Linked DNA regions of Homo sapiens: region 1 is linked to region 2. Evidence: promoter capture Hi-C in 16 types of primary human blood cells and fetal thymus (Javierre and others, 2016). All regions are on one chromosome and are shown on one strand. The core of a region is centred on a gene start or on the middle of the fragment in contact, and the rest is flanking DNA. Distances in the headings are between cores, read along the strand shown.

Region 1 (6,201 bases), core at 262-2,761, 92 kb before region 2:
GGCAAAAACCCTTACCTTTAAAGTTCCTGCCAGGATTAAACAGAATTACCCAGCAATCTCATTGCTGGGTGGGTATGATCCCGCAATCCCACTTCTAGGTATATACCCAAAAGAAATGAATGGACTTCAACTGATACTTGTATATCATGTTCATAGGAGCATTATGCAATAGCTAAATAAAAGGTGAAATAACCCAAATGTCCAACAGTAGATAAATGGATAAACAAAATGTGGTATATACATACCCTTAAAGAGGAAGGAAATTCTAAAAAAAAACAAAAAACAAAAAAGGAAGGAATTCAGACATATACTACAACATGGATGAACCTTGAGGACATGACACTAAGTGAAATAAGCCAGGCACAAAAGGACAAACATTCCAGCCTGGCCAACGTGGTAAAACCCCGTCTCTACTAAAAATACAAAAATTAGCCGGACGTGGTGGCAGGTGCCTGTAATCCCAGCTACTTGGGAGGCCAAGGCAGGAGAATCACTTGAACCCGGGAGGTAGAGGTTGCAGTGAGCCAAGATCATGCCACTGCACTCCAGCCCAGGCGAAAGAGCGAGACTCTGTCTCAAACAAAAAAAAAGAGGACAAACATTGTATGATTCCACTTATATGATGTGCTTAGAGCAATCAAATTCATAAGACAGAAAGTACTACAGGAGATTGTAAGGGGCTGGAGAAGGGGAAAATGGGGAGTTAATGTTTAATGAGTATAGAGTTTTAGTTTGGGAGGATGAAAAAGTTCTGGAGATGCATAGTGGTGTTGGTGAAGGTATAACAACATGAATGTACTTAATACTGCTGGACTGTACACTTGAAAATGGTTAAAATGGTCAATTTTATGTTATGTATAATTTTACCACAATTAAAAAACCCTCTGTTTATATAATTTACATTTTTAGAGGGGGAAGACAGACAATAAATAAAATAAGGCCGGGCGCGGTGGCTCATGCCTGTAATCCCAGCACTTTGGGAGGCCGAGGCGGGTGGATCATGAGGTCAGGAGTTTGGCACCAGCCTGACCAACATGGCAAAACCCCGTCTCTACTAAAAATACAAAAATTAGCTGGGTGTGGTGGCGTATGCCTGTAGTCCCAGCTACTCAGGAGGCTGAGGCAGGAGAATCACTTGAACCCAGGAGGCGGAGGCTGCAGTGAGCCGAGATTGCACCACTGCACTCCAACCTGGGTGACAGAGAGAGACTCCATCTAAAAAAAAAAGTAAAAATAAATAATTAAATAAGTAAAAGATATGCTATATTAGACGTTAATTAGCGCTATGTAGAAAAATAAGCAGAAAAGAGGATGGAAAGCTGGGATGTGGTTGGAGTTGTGGTTTTAGAGAAGGTTGTCAGGGGAAGCTTTACTGATGAGGTGACTTGAGTGAAGACCTAAAGAAGGTAAGGGAGGCAGTCATGCAAAGAGCTGATTGAGGAACATTCCAGGCAGAGGGGACAGCAAGTTCATGGGAGGGCTGTCCACAGCACTGAAAAACACCCCGGGGCCAGGCATGCTTGGCCTGTTAAATGCACAGTATGGAGGCCCCTGAGTGGGAGTAACGGGGAGAGGAGGAGCAGAGAAAGTCAAGGAGGCCTGTACAACACAGGCCTTGTAGGCCAAGGTAAGGGCTTTTTCAGGGAGTGAGGTGGGAAGCTTTTACAGGTTTTTGGGCAGAGACTGATCAGATTTTTTTTATTATTTATTCACTTACTTATTTTTGAGACAGGGCCTCAGTCTGTCCTCCAGGCTGGAGTGCCATGGTATGATCATGGCTCACTGCAGCCTCCACCTCCCAGGCTCAAGCGATCCTCCTGCCTCAGCCTCTGGAGTAGCTGGGAATACAAGCGTGCACCAACACGCCTGGCTAATTTTGTTATTTTTTGGAGAGACGGGGTCTTGCTATGTTGCCCAGGCTCGTCTCAAAACTCCTGGGCTCAAATGGTTCTCCCTCCTTGGCCTCCCAAAGTGTTGGGATTACAGGCATGTGCCACTGTGCCTGGCCTAGGTTTGTGTTTTAAAGCAATGCTTCTCAAACTTTCTTGTGCATAACAATCTCCTACAGATCTCGTTAAAATGCAGATTCTGATTCAGGAGATCTGAGGTGGGGCCTGATTTCCAAAGACCACACTTGTGAAACCCTGAGACCACCATGTTGAGAGGAACCCCAATCCTGCCTGCTAGAGGATGAGAGGCCATATGGAGGAAAACCAAGCACCCCAGGCTCAGCTGACTGCCAGACATGTGAGGGAGACCATTTTGGCCCTTCTAGTCTAGCAGACCTTCCAGCAGCAATACATGATTGAAACAGGGATTGATTTGAAAGGATCCCTCTGACTACAGTGTGGACAATAGGCTGTGGGAAGGTGGCACACGTGCAGAAGCAGGGTGTACCCTGCACAAGTGCACAGTTGCATCTGCCAAAAGGTGTGCCTTTTTCTTTTTCTTTCTTTTTTTTGAGACAGGGTCTTGCTCTGTTGTCCAGGCTGGAATACAGTGGTGTGATCTCAGCTTATTGCAGCCTCCGCCTCCCGGGTTCACGCAATTTTCCTGCCTCAGACTCCCAAGTAGCTGGGATTACAGGCATGCACCACCATGCCTGGCTAATTTTGTATTTTTAGTAGAGACGGGGTTTCACCATGTTGGCCAGGCTGGTCTTGAACTCCTAACCTCAAGTGATCTGCCCACCTTGGCCTCCCAAAGTGCTGGCATTACAGGTGTGAGCTACCGTGCCCAACCCCTTTTTCTAATTTCCACGACAGCATTGATTGCTTTTGCAGCAGCTCAGTGAGAAAGTGGTGAGATTCTGAATATAATCTGAAGCAAAGACGGACAGGATTGGATGTGGGGTGGAGTCAAGGGTGAAGGCATGGAGTTATGTGAGAGGGGTAAGCCTGCAGGGGGAACAAATTTGGAAGAAACATGATTGCTTACTAGATATCAAAGTTCAGATATGAAGATTAGAATTTGGAGGCCAGGTGCGGTGGCTCACGCCTGTAATCTTAGCACTTTGGGAGGCTGAGGCCAGAGGATCACTTGACCTCAGGAGTTCAAGAGCAGCCTGGGCAACATAGTGGGACCTCAGCTCTATTTAAAAAAACACAAACAAGCCGGGCGCGGTGGCTCACGCCAGTAATCCCAGCAATTTGGGAGGCAGAGGCAGGCGGATCACCTGAGGTCAGCAGTTCAAGACCAGCCTGACCAACATGGAGAAACCCCATCTCTACTAAAAATACAAAATTAGCCGGGGTGGTGGCGCATGCCTGTAATCCCAGCTACTCGGGAGGCTGAGGCAGGAGAATCGCTTGAACCCAGGAGGCGGAGGTTGCGGCGAGCTGAGATCGTGCCATTGCACTCCAGCCTGGGCAATGAGAGCGAAACTCCGTCTCAAAACAAACAAACAAACAAACAAAAAAAACACAAACAAACAAAACCTCCCCCCCACCCAAAAAAAGATATATATATATATTCTTATATATGGTACTAGAGGTTGAAAAGTCATTAGATATTTAAGACCATAGACTGGGTGAGATCACCCAGGAGTAAGTGCAGATAAAGAGAACCCAAGACTGAGCCCAAGGAGACTGGGGAGTAGCAGCCAAACAGCTTTTGCCATGCAGAGATCATAAACGACCTTTACAAGAGAAGTTTTGGTGAAGTGCTGGATACAAACCCGTAATTTAGGGTGGGTTCAAGGAAGAAATGGAAGGAGAGGAACTGAAGGCAGAATATAAATAAATGCTTACACAAAATTTCTCTGTAAAGGTGAGTAGAGAAAGGCTGTGACTGGAGGGGAAAGGGAGTTCAAATTTGTTTGTTTTTCTGATGGGAGAAATGCCAGCATGTTTGCATACAGATGAGAATGACCCAGATGAGAGGCACAATTGATGATGCACAAGAGTCCTTGAAGGGATGAGATCTAGAGCACAGAGGGGCTGGGGGGCTGGCTGCAGACAGCAGCAGAGACAGTGCCATTGGAATAGGAGGAAAAGCAGAGTATATGGGCACAAATGCAGGTGGCAGGTTGATGGTGAGGGTGCGAGCCTTTGGCAGTTCTCTTCTGATAACTTTAATTTGCTCAAGAAAATAGGATCTTAACTGGGCCCAGTGGCTTGTGCCTATAATCCCAGCACTTTGAGAGGCCGAGTGGGGAGAATTGTTTGGGGCCAGGGCCAGGAGTTCAAGACAAGCCTGGGCAACATAGTGAGACCTTTGTATACATTTTTTTTTTTTGAGACAGTCTTGCTCTGTCACCCAGGCTGGAGTGCAGTGGTGCCACCTTGGGTCACTGTAACCTCCTCCTCCCAGGTTATAATGATTCTCTTGCCTTAGTCTCCCGAGTACCTGGGATTACAGGTACCCACCACTACACTTGGCTAATTTTTGCATTTTTAGTAGAGATGGGGTTTCACCCTGTTGGCCAGGCTGGTCTCGAACTCCTGACCTCAGGTGATCTGCCTGTCTTGGCCTCTCAAAGTGCTGGGATTACAGGTGTGAGCCACTGTGCCCAGCCTACCCATTCTAAAGTAAGATCTTAACTGGGCCCAGTGGTTTGCACCTATAATCCCAGCACTTTGAGAGTCCAATGTGGGAGGATCGCTTGAGGTCAGGAGTTTGAGATCAGGCTGAGAGCAACATAGTGAGACCTCCATCTCTACAAAAAAAATAAAAATAAAAATAAAAGCAATAGCCAGGCATGGTGGCACACACCTGTAAGTCCAGCAATTTGGAAGGCTGAGGTGGGAGGATTCCTTGAGCCCAGGAGTTCAAGGCTGCAGTGAGCTATGATTGTGCCATAGCACTCCAGCCTAGGTAACAGACCCTGTCTCTCAAAAAATAAATTAATTAATAATTACAAAATAGGATGTAAGATAATCAGTTGAGAGTGAGGGTAGGAGGGGCTTAAGGAGAACTGAAGGTGCTGCAAGAGTAAATAGCATCAGAAAACATACAACAACATTATTTACAGGCCGGGCACAGTGGTGCATGCCTGTAATCCCAGCATTTTGGGAGGCTGAGGGCAGGTGGATCACCTAAGGTGATGGAGGTTGGGAGTTCAAGACCAGCCTGGCCAACATGGTGAAACCCCATCTCTACTAAAAATAAAAATTAGCTGGGCATGGTGGTGGGCACCTATAATCCCAGCTACTACTGGGAGGCTGAGGCAGGAGAATCGCTTGAACCTGGGAGGCACAGGTTGCAGTGATCTGAGATCGTGCCATTGCACTCCAGCCTGGGCAACAAGAGTGAGACTCCATCTCAAAAAAAAAAAAGAAAGAAAAGAAAAGATTATTTATAATATCCTTGTGGACAAGGCAGAGAAATACAGCCTGGCTATAAGGCCTAAGTGAGGCAGTAATGGGTTGTTAAGGGATGAAGTGATGCCAGTCTAGACAGAGACTCTTTCACTGTGGTTTAACCTTAGTCCTTTTTGAATTGATAGTTATGTCAAATCATGCAAGGGCCAAAATAAGGCCTTTATGTAATTTGAAATAAAAATATTAAATCATAAAGCAAGTATAAGAAAGTCCAAGGCTGGGTGCAGTGGCTCATGCCTGTAATCCCAACAATTTGGGAGGCTGAGGCAGGAGGACTGCTTGAGCCCAGGAGTTCAAAGCCAGCCTGGGCAACATGGGGAGACCCTGTCTCTACCAAAAAAAAAAAAAAAAAAAAAAAAAAACCTGATAGTTGAACCCTGAGGAGGATTCTAGAGGATCACTTCAGTCTGAGAAGTTGAGGCTGCGGTGAGCCATGTTTGCGCCACTGCATGCCAGCCTGGCTGACAGAGTAAGACCCTGTCTCAAAAAATATATATTGAACTTCAAATTCTTTGCAAGATATATACATACATATTTTTGGTCTTATGCTTTATTGGTGCCTTCTACAAAGGCTGAGCTGAATGCCCTTGGGGTAAATGCAGATCCTGCAGACCCAGGGAAGATTCGACAATTTTAAAATTTTTTGTACAGATGGAGTCTTACTGTGTTGCCTAGGCTAGTTTTGAACTCCTGGGCTCAAGCGATCCTCCTGCCTGAACAACACAAAGTGCTGGGATTACAGGTGTGAGCCACTGCGCCCAGCCCTGACAAATTTGTTAAAGGCTTCAAAGCTAGAGGGGCAACTAGTAAACTGATAAACACAGACACATTTCAAATGACTGAAGAAATGCACCAAACTGAACAAGATGAGAATTTAACA
Region 2 (6,741 bases), core at 3,640-6,139:
GACCACCGTTTTAATTATTTATTTTCCAGAAGTTTACAACTCAACTTGCAATTTTCCCGTGTAAGATTCACTTTAGGAAATTTACTTTTGCTGATGGAGTCTATTCTATAATGTGAATAATAAATAATGATAAAACCCCCCATAGAAACAGAACATTAAAATCTGCAGAGAATGGTAATCCACTGTGCAAACCAGCCTGGATCCAACAAATCCTAAAGGTCTTCAAAGACTCTCAAGCCCTCCAGAACGTCAGTTCTCTTTTTCTTATGAGACAGAGTCTCACTCTGTCACCCAGGCTGGAGTGCAGTGGCGCGATCTCAGCTCACTGCACCCTCTTCCTCCTGGGTTCAAGTGATTCTCCTGTAATCAAGCGATTACAGGCACATGCCACCATGCCTGGCTAATTTTTTTTTTTTTGTATTTTTAGTACAGACAGGGTTTCACCATATTGGTCAGGCTGGTCTCAAACTCCTGACCTCAGGTGATCCGCCTGCCTTGGCTTCCCAAAGTGTTGGGATTATAGGCATGAGCCACTGTGCCTGGCTCAGAACCTAAATTCTCAAAGTCCTCCTGGACGAATGAGCCAGCTCATTGCTCCCTCTAGGACATGGTGCCTTCTCTCAGGCTCAGCTGGGCTCCTTAACTAAAGGCCAGGCCAGGAGCCACGGACCAGGTTTCAGGCCATGCAATCCCTCTAGCCCTCTGAAAGAACAGGTGAAGGCAGCCAGTTGTTGGCTAGTCAGGCCTCACCGCCCAGCCCAGGGCCAGCTTGGACTTGCTCCTACCCGGCAGCCACGTTATCGCTGTTCCAGTATGGATGCACCACGATCTTCTGCACACTCACGTACTGCTCAGTGCCATCATTCTGGCTCAGGTTATGGTCTCCAGCCACCACGCGGAAAGTCTTCTGGCTGGCGTGAGAGAAGGAATCCCTGAGTCATCCAGGGGACTCAAACCTTCTCTACCCCACTTAGAGAAAAGTTGAAAAACCATCTTTTTTTTTAATCATTATTATTTAGGAAATTTTTTTTTTTTTTTAGAGATGGGGTTTTGCTGTGTTGCCCAGGCTGGCTTCAAACTCCCAGGCTCAAGTGATCCTCCCACCGCAGCTTCCCTAGTAGCTGGGACTACAGGTGTGAGCCACCGTGCCCAGGTTTTGTTTATTATTTTAGGACAGGAACCCATCTTATCTGGTCTAGGCAGAGGAGGGATATAAGACTCTCCAAAATGAGAAAGTAACAAGCTCTTTCATTCCCTAATTGACTAACTTGTGGAAGTGAAAAAAACTACCATCACTTTGATTTTCTCGGTTTAACATCATAGGCTGAATATCTTGTAAACTGGGAGAGGTGTAGTGCGCATAAATGAAATAATGGCTCTCAGCCACCAAGATTTTGAAGGAAGCATAGACTTTTAGGCTAGTTGTTCTTAAAGCGTGGTTCCTGGGCCGCAGCATGAGCATCACCTGGAAACTTGTTAGAAATGCAAATTATCAGGCCTCACCCTGGACCTACCAAATTAGAAACTCTGCTGGATGGGGCCCAGCAATCTGTGCCTTCCAGGTGATTCTGACACATGCTCAAATGTGAAAACCATTGCCCAAGACAAATAGGAAAAAATAGTCACCAGTCAGACATTGACTAGGCACTTACATATTTACTCAATCCTCACAACATTTCTACAAAGTAAATGTTCTTAGCCCACTTTAGAGATAGGAGAATGGGGGCATAGTTGCCCAAGGCTACATAGCTAGAATTTGGTGGAGCAAGATTTGAATTTGAGTCTCCCTGACTCCAAAGTTTGTACTTTCACCATACTACCTCCCTGCAGGCCCTGAACAGGAAAGGAGCCACTGCCCAGTCCCTGAAGTGCTGTCCAGAGAGGGCAAAATTATATCCTCTTTCAGAAGGTCAGCCCCTTCCCCTTCCAGGGGCCCAGGAAAGCTTGTCTTTGTTTTTCTTACTAATCCACGCAGTGAGCAGCTGTCATCACCCAGTTCTGTCTGATAAGGGTCCCTCCACAGGTGTGATACCGGGAACCTCCAGACCGGTACTGGAGGGAAATCTAGATGGGGAGGAAAGAAAGAAGGGATAGGTTGGTGTTTCTCAAATGGTTTTGCCCCAGGTCGGTTGCAGTGGCTCATGCCAGTAATCCCAGAACTTTGGAAGGCTGAGGCAGGAGGATCAGTTGAGCCTAGGAGCTGGAGACCAGCCTGGGCAACATAGTGAGACCTCGCCTCTACAACGTCAAAAATAATTAAATATAAAAGACTTTGCCTCAAACTACATGTCACCTCCTTAAAGTCCTGCTGTCCTTCAAAACATTCTCTTTCTAGGCTAGAGATGGCAAATAGGTTTCATCTGACCTGCCAATTGCTACTGATTGCTTGGTAGTGGCCACCTGGAGTGTGGCATTGATAAGGGGTGTGTAGATGCTTCTGGGGCCAGCAGGAAGGGATGCTCCATCGCTTGGTGATGTTTGCTGTGTACATGGATGGAGGAGTAAAGGCACACAGTGTATTTGGCATTATCTCTCTAGGTTGTTGCAATGGACCTAGAACCCATTGTAACTCCTTTTTTGGAACTCCTTCTACCTCTGTTCTCCCTTAAAGAGGAACTATAGGCCAGGCACCATGGCTCACGCCTGTGATCCTAGCACATTGGGAGGCCAAGGCGGGTGGATCACCAGGTCAGGAGATCAAGACCATCCTGGCCAACATGGTGAAACCCCATCTCTACTAAAAATGCAAAAATTAGTCGGGCGTGGTGGCATGCACCTGTAGTCCCAGCTACTCAGGAGGCTGAGGCAGGAGAATTGCTTGAACCCAGGAGGTGGAGGTTACAGTGAGCTGAGATAGCGTCACTGCACTGCAGCCTGGTGACAGAGCGAGACTCCATCGCCCCCTCTCCTCCCCCAAAAAAGAGGAACTATAGGCAAAGATTTGCTCCATCACCTAAGCCCAACAGGCTTAGGTCTCCAGAGCTGTACCTTTAGTGTTTTCAAGACATCTCCTGTCTCCCCACTTCAGGGACTACTTAGAAATACCAATGGGAGGCCAGGCGCTGTGGCTCATGCCTGTAATCCCAGCACTTTGGGAGGCTGAGGCGGGTGGATCACCTGAGGTCAGGAGTTTGAGACCAGCCTGGCCAACATGGTGAAACCCCGTCTCTACTAAAAATACAAAAATTAGCTGGGCATGGTGACAGGCGCCTGTAATCCCAGCTACTCAGGAGGCTGACGCAGGAGAACTGCTTGAACCCAGGAGGCAGAGTTTGCAGTGAGCCGAGATCATGCCATTGCACTCTAGCCTGGGCAATGAGAGCAAAACTCCATCTCAAAAAAAAAAAAATACCAATAGGATGTTTGTTTTTATCAGTTCATGTCTCTTCTTCTAGCACCTCATGTTATGTAATAGCTCTACTCCTGAAAACTGGGGCTCAGACTTTTATAAGCTAAAACTCTGATTGCAGTGATATCTTCTCAAAGTGTGGATCTTCATCAGTTAATTTGCCAGGTTTACATATTTAGATCACTTAAATCAGGGCCCAGCTGCCCTGTTAGCAAAGTGGAAACTCTAAATAGCCAACTAAGCAGCATGCTGTACGTGTGTGTGTGTGTGTGTGCGCGCACATGCGTGCAAGCATTGTGACACACACAGTGTGGAGTGGTGTGCGTGTGAGTTTCAAGGTATGTGGAGTCCAAGGTGACTGTCTGGCACCCAGTCTTTCTTGCGTGGCACAAGTGCTGTCGCTGAGAATATAAATGTATCTTGTGTTTGGGTGTGTGCCTTGAAGAGGGACTGTGGTTGGTGTATAAATCCCCTCCTCCAAGCCTTTTGCATTTAGAAAACCACCTAAGCCTGATCCCATCCATCTTTAAAATCGAGAACCTAGACAATTGGAGAGCTGCTTGTTGATAGGGACATGCACAAATACACATGATACCTTATGTCATGCACTGAGCTCTTATTTGGGTGGAAGTCTGGGGCTGGGAAGGAACACCCACCTGAGAGGGCCAGGAATTCCTCCCGGCCTCAGTCCCTCCGACTACGCGGGCATTGGTTTCCGGAAGGTCCTGGGTGCTGTGTCCTTTGTGGGGCAGAAGAAAAGTGAGTGATGACTAAGCATGGGGTCAGCCAGGGGTAGGGGTGGGGGGTGGCGATTGTGCTTTGAGGAATGTTAGCCTTGTCTGCAAATTCACAGTTCCTCTCTAACGAATGAGGGGCCCAGCTGTGAGTTCTCTGAGCCCCTTTTGAAAACAGGGGTGCCTGGGTGCCTTCTGTTTCCCCCAGGTGTTCCCAGAACTCCGGCATGCTATGAAGGACCTCTCTCAAACCACCAGGCTAGGCCCCAGAGGCTCCTTGTGGTCTCCTCTTTGCTCAAGATCACCCTTTGGCCTGAAGAGACCCCCCCCCACTCTTTGACCCCCACCAGCCCCCTAATGCTTTGGCAAGATTCTCCAGGGTTCAGGGCCTGCAGTGCACACCCCAGCCAGGCACCTGCTGAGGAAGTCCTCCTGTCAATGGGGGTGGTGGGGAAGCCCAGGGACCCACCCCACTACCAGATGGGGCTTCTCTCTGCTTTGTGGCCCAGGGACCTGCCACCCAGAGGGGCCTGAATAGCCAGTGGCCCTGACCTTTTCTATCTTGGCCTCCAGGAGAGTAAAGGACGCTCTGCAGGCAGAGCGTCCCACCTGCCCTGGGACAGGGTGCTGGCCTGGACTTAGGGAAAATTTGCTGACCTTCCTGCCCAAGTCCCCCTCCCTATAGACCTCAGGCCACATGATCCACTTACCATAAAGGACCAGGGTTGCGACTGGACCATATCCACTTACCATAAAGGACCAGCATGTTGCCGATGGAGTAGACCACTGCCTTCTTGCTTGGACCAAGCCCTCTTTATACTCCTCTTAGCAGCAAAGCTGACTGTCTTCTTGCCAACTGGCAGGGCTGAGGGTGCAAGGCAGGGAAAATCACAAGTGACATGGAAATACAAATGAAAATATTTCTTTTCAAGTAAACTAATGTATCTGTTATTCAAAGACAGAACAAGGCCAGGGCTGAATTAATCATCTGCTTTTAATTGAAAAGCATCCAACAAACTCTTTTTCAGAAATAAGATGGAGAACCAGGGCTGGTTTTTCTCTAAGGGAGCACCCCTTGTCATCCATCACTCTCTCGTTGTCCTCAGTGGCACCATAAATGCAGAGACTTGCCCTGTGCACTAGCAGCTGGAGGCCAGGGGGATAGTGGAAGAGGGGGGAGTGGTTAGCAAGGGCAAGGAAGACACAGCAACTCTCTCTGCCCAAAGAGGGAGATGGCACATGCCCCCAGGATGCAGGCATAGGTGTAAATGCAGACACAAAAGCCAAATAGATGCAGTGGAGATAATTCTGGGGGAGGAAAGTACTGAGAAACAGGCTTGGGCCCTCTCAGATGGAGAGCCAAGAAGGGGCTCCCAGAGGAGAATATGAGGCAGGGTAGAGGAGGGGATCCTTGGGATGTGAAGACAGTCTGAGGGCTATGAGGGTAGATGGAGGGTGGAGGGCAGAGGGAGAACGAGGGTAGGAGCCGAGGTTCCTGCAGGAGATGAAAGGCTTTGTTCATCACAGTTCGTAGAGGAGAGAGAAGGGAGTTGCGGCCGGGCGCGGTGGTTTACGCCTGTAATCCCAGCACTTTGGGAGGCTGAGGCGGGCGGATCACAAGATCAAGAGATCGAGACCATCCTGGCCAACATGGCGAAACCCCGTCTACTAAAAATACAAAAATTGGCCGGGCGCGGTGGCTCATGCCTGTAATCCCAGCACTTTGGGAGTCGGAGGCGGGCGGATCACGAGGTCAGGAGATTGAGACTACTCTGGCTAACACAGTGAAACCCCGTCTCTACTAAAAAAATACAAAAAATTAGCTGGGCGTGGTGGCAGGCGCCTGTAGTCCCAGCTCCTCGGGAGGCGCAGGCAGGAGAATGGCGTGAGCCCGGGAGGCGGAGCTTGCAGTGAGCCGAGATCGCGCCACTGCACTCCAACCTGGGCGACAGAGCGAGACTCCATCTAAAAAAAAACAAAAACAAAATACAAAAATTAGCTGGGCATGGTGGTGCGCTTCTGCAGTCCCAGCTAATCTGGAGGCTGAGGCAGGAGAATCGCTTCAACCTGGGAAGCGGAGGTTGCTGCACTCCAGCCTGGAGACAGAGCAAGACTCTGTCTCAAAATAAATAAATAAATAAATAAATAAATAAATAAATAAATAAATAAATAGAGAGAGAAAAGAGTTGCAATGTGCCTTGAGGTGGGCAGAGGACCCTTGGGTTGGCCACAAAATGATCAGAGCCACTGCAGGCTCCAGAGCAGAGGACTGTGGGTGCAGCAGTCATGGTAGCAACGCATGGGGTTTGGAATTAGGCAGGGAGAAGCCAGGAACCTAGACAGAAGCAGGACCATCACCTGCCCACCCAGGGCTTTTGTTGCCTAAACACTCCAGAATCCAAGCTTCATGGCTGCAGGGGTGGGAGAAACCTGGAAAATGCTCTTTGAAGGAATCTGCACAGTCACTTTTTCAGTGTCTAGAGCTGTTCAGAGGAGTTGCACTTTGATGCTCAGATAACCTGAAGAGCTTGCTCTCCAGCCTGCCCTCCAGCATTCTGGCACACTCAGGGAAGAGGGGTGAGCTGCGCTAGGGAACCCGGGGCCTCTTTGGTCATTCTCCTCCCGCTTCCCTGCTTCCTCTGGCCTCTAGCCCCAGGA

Evidence for each region. Contacts are between HindIII fragments. The CHiCAGO score rates a contact against its expected background, and 5 or more counts as called.
Region 1: a fragment that was not itself captured here is called in contact with the fragment with the promoter of CELA1 in region 2 in 6 of 17 cell types (megakaryocytes, M2 macrophages, non-activated CD4 T cells and 3 more); the score reaches 6.6 in megakaryocytes.

What each region holds. Positions count from the first base shown.
Region 1 is chr12:51,253,329-51,259,529 of GRCh38, forward strand. The region is part of intron 2 of SMAGP (small cell adhesion glycoprotein); the gene reads right to left. Among named protein-coding and RNA genes, the nearest start is that of SMAGP, 14 kb to the right of the region's middle. The HindIII fragment of the contact is 292 bases long and covers 1,366-1,657 here.
Region 2 is chr12:51,341,790-51,348,530 of GRCh38, forward strand. CELA1 (chymotrypsin like elastase 1) reads right to left here and starts at 4,890. Exons shown (of 8, transcript NM_001971.6): 1 at 4,834-4,890; 2 at 4,006-4,088; 3 at 1,964-2,064; 4 at 786-911. The coding sequence starts at 4,849. The HindIII fragment of the contact is 4,543 bases long and covers 1,942-6,484 here.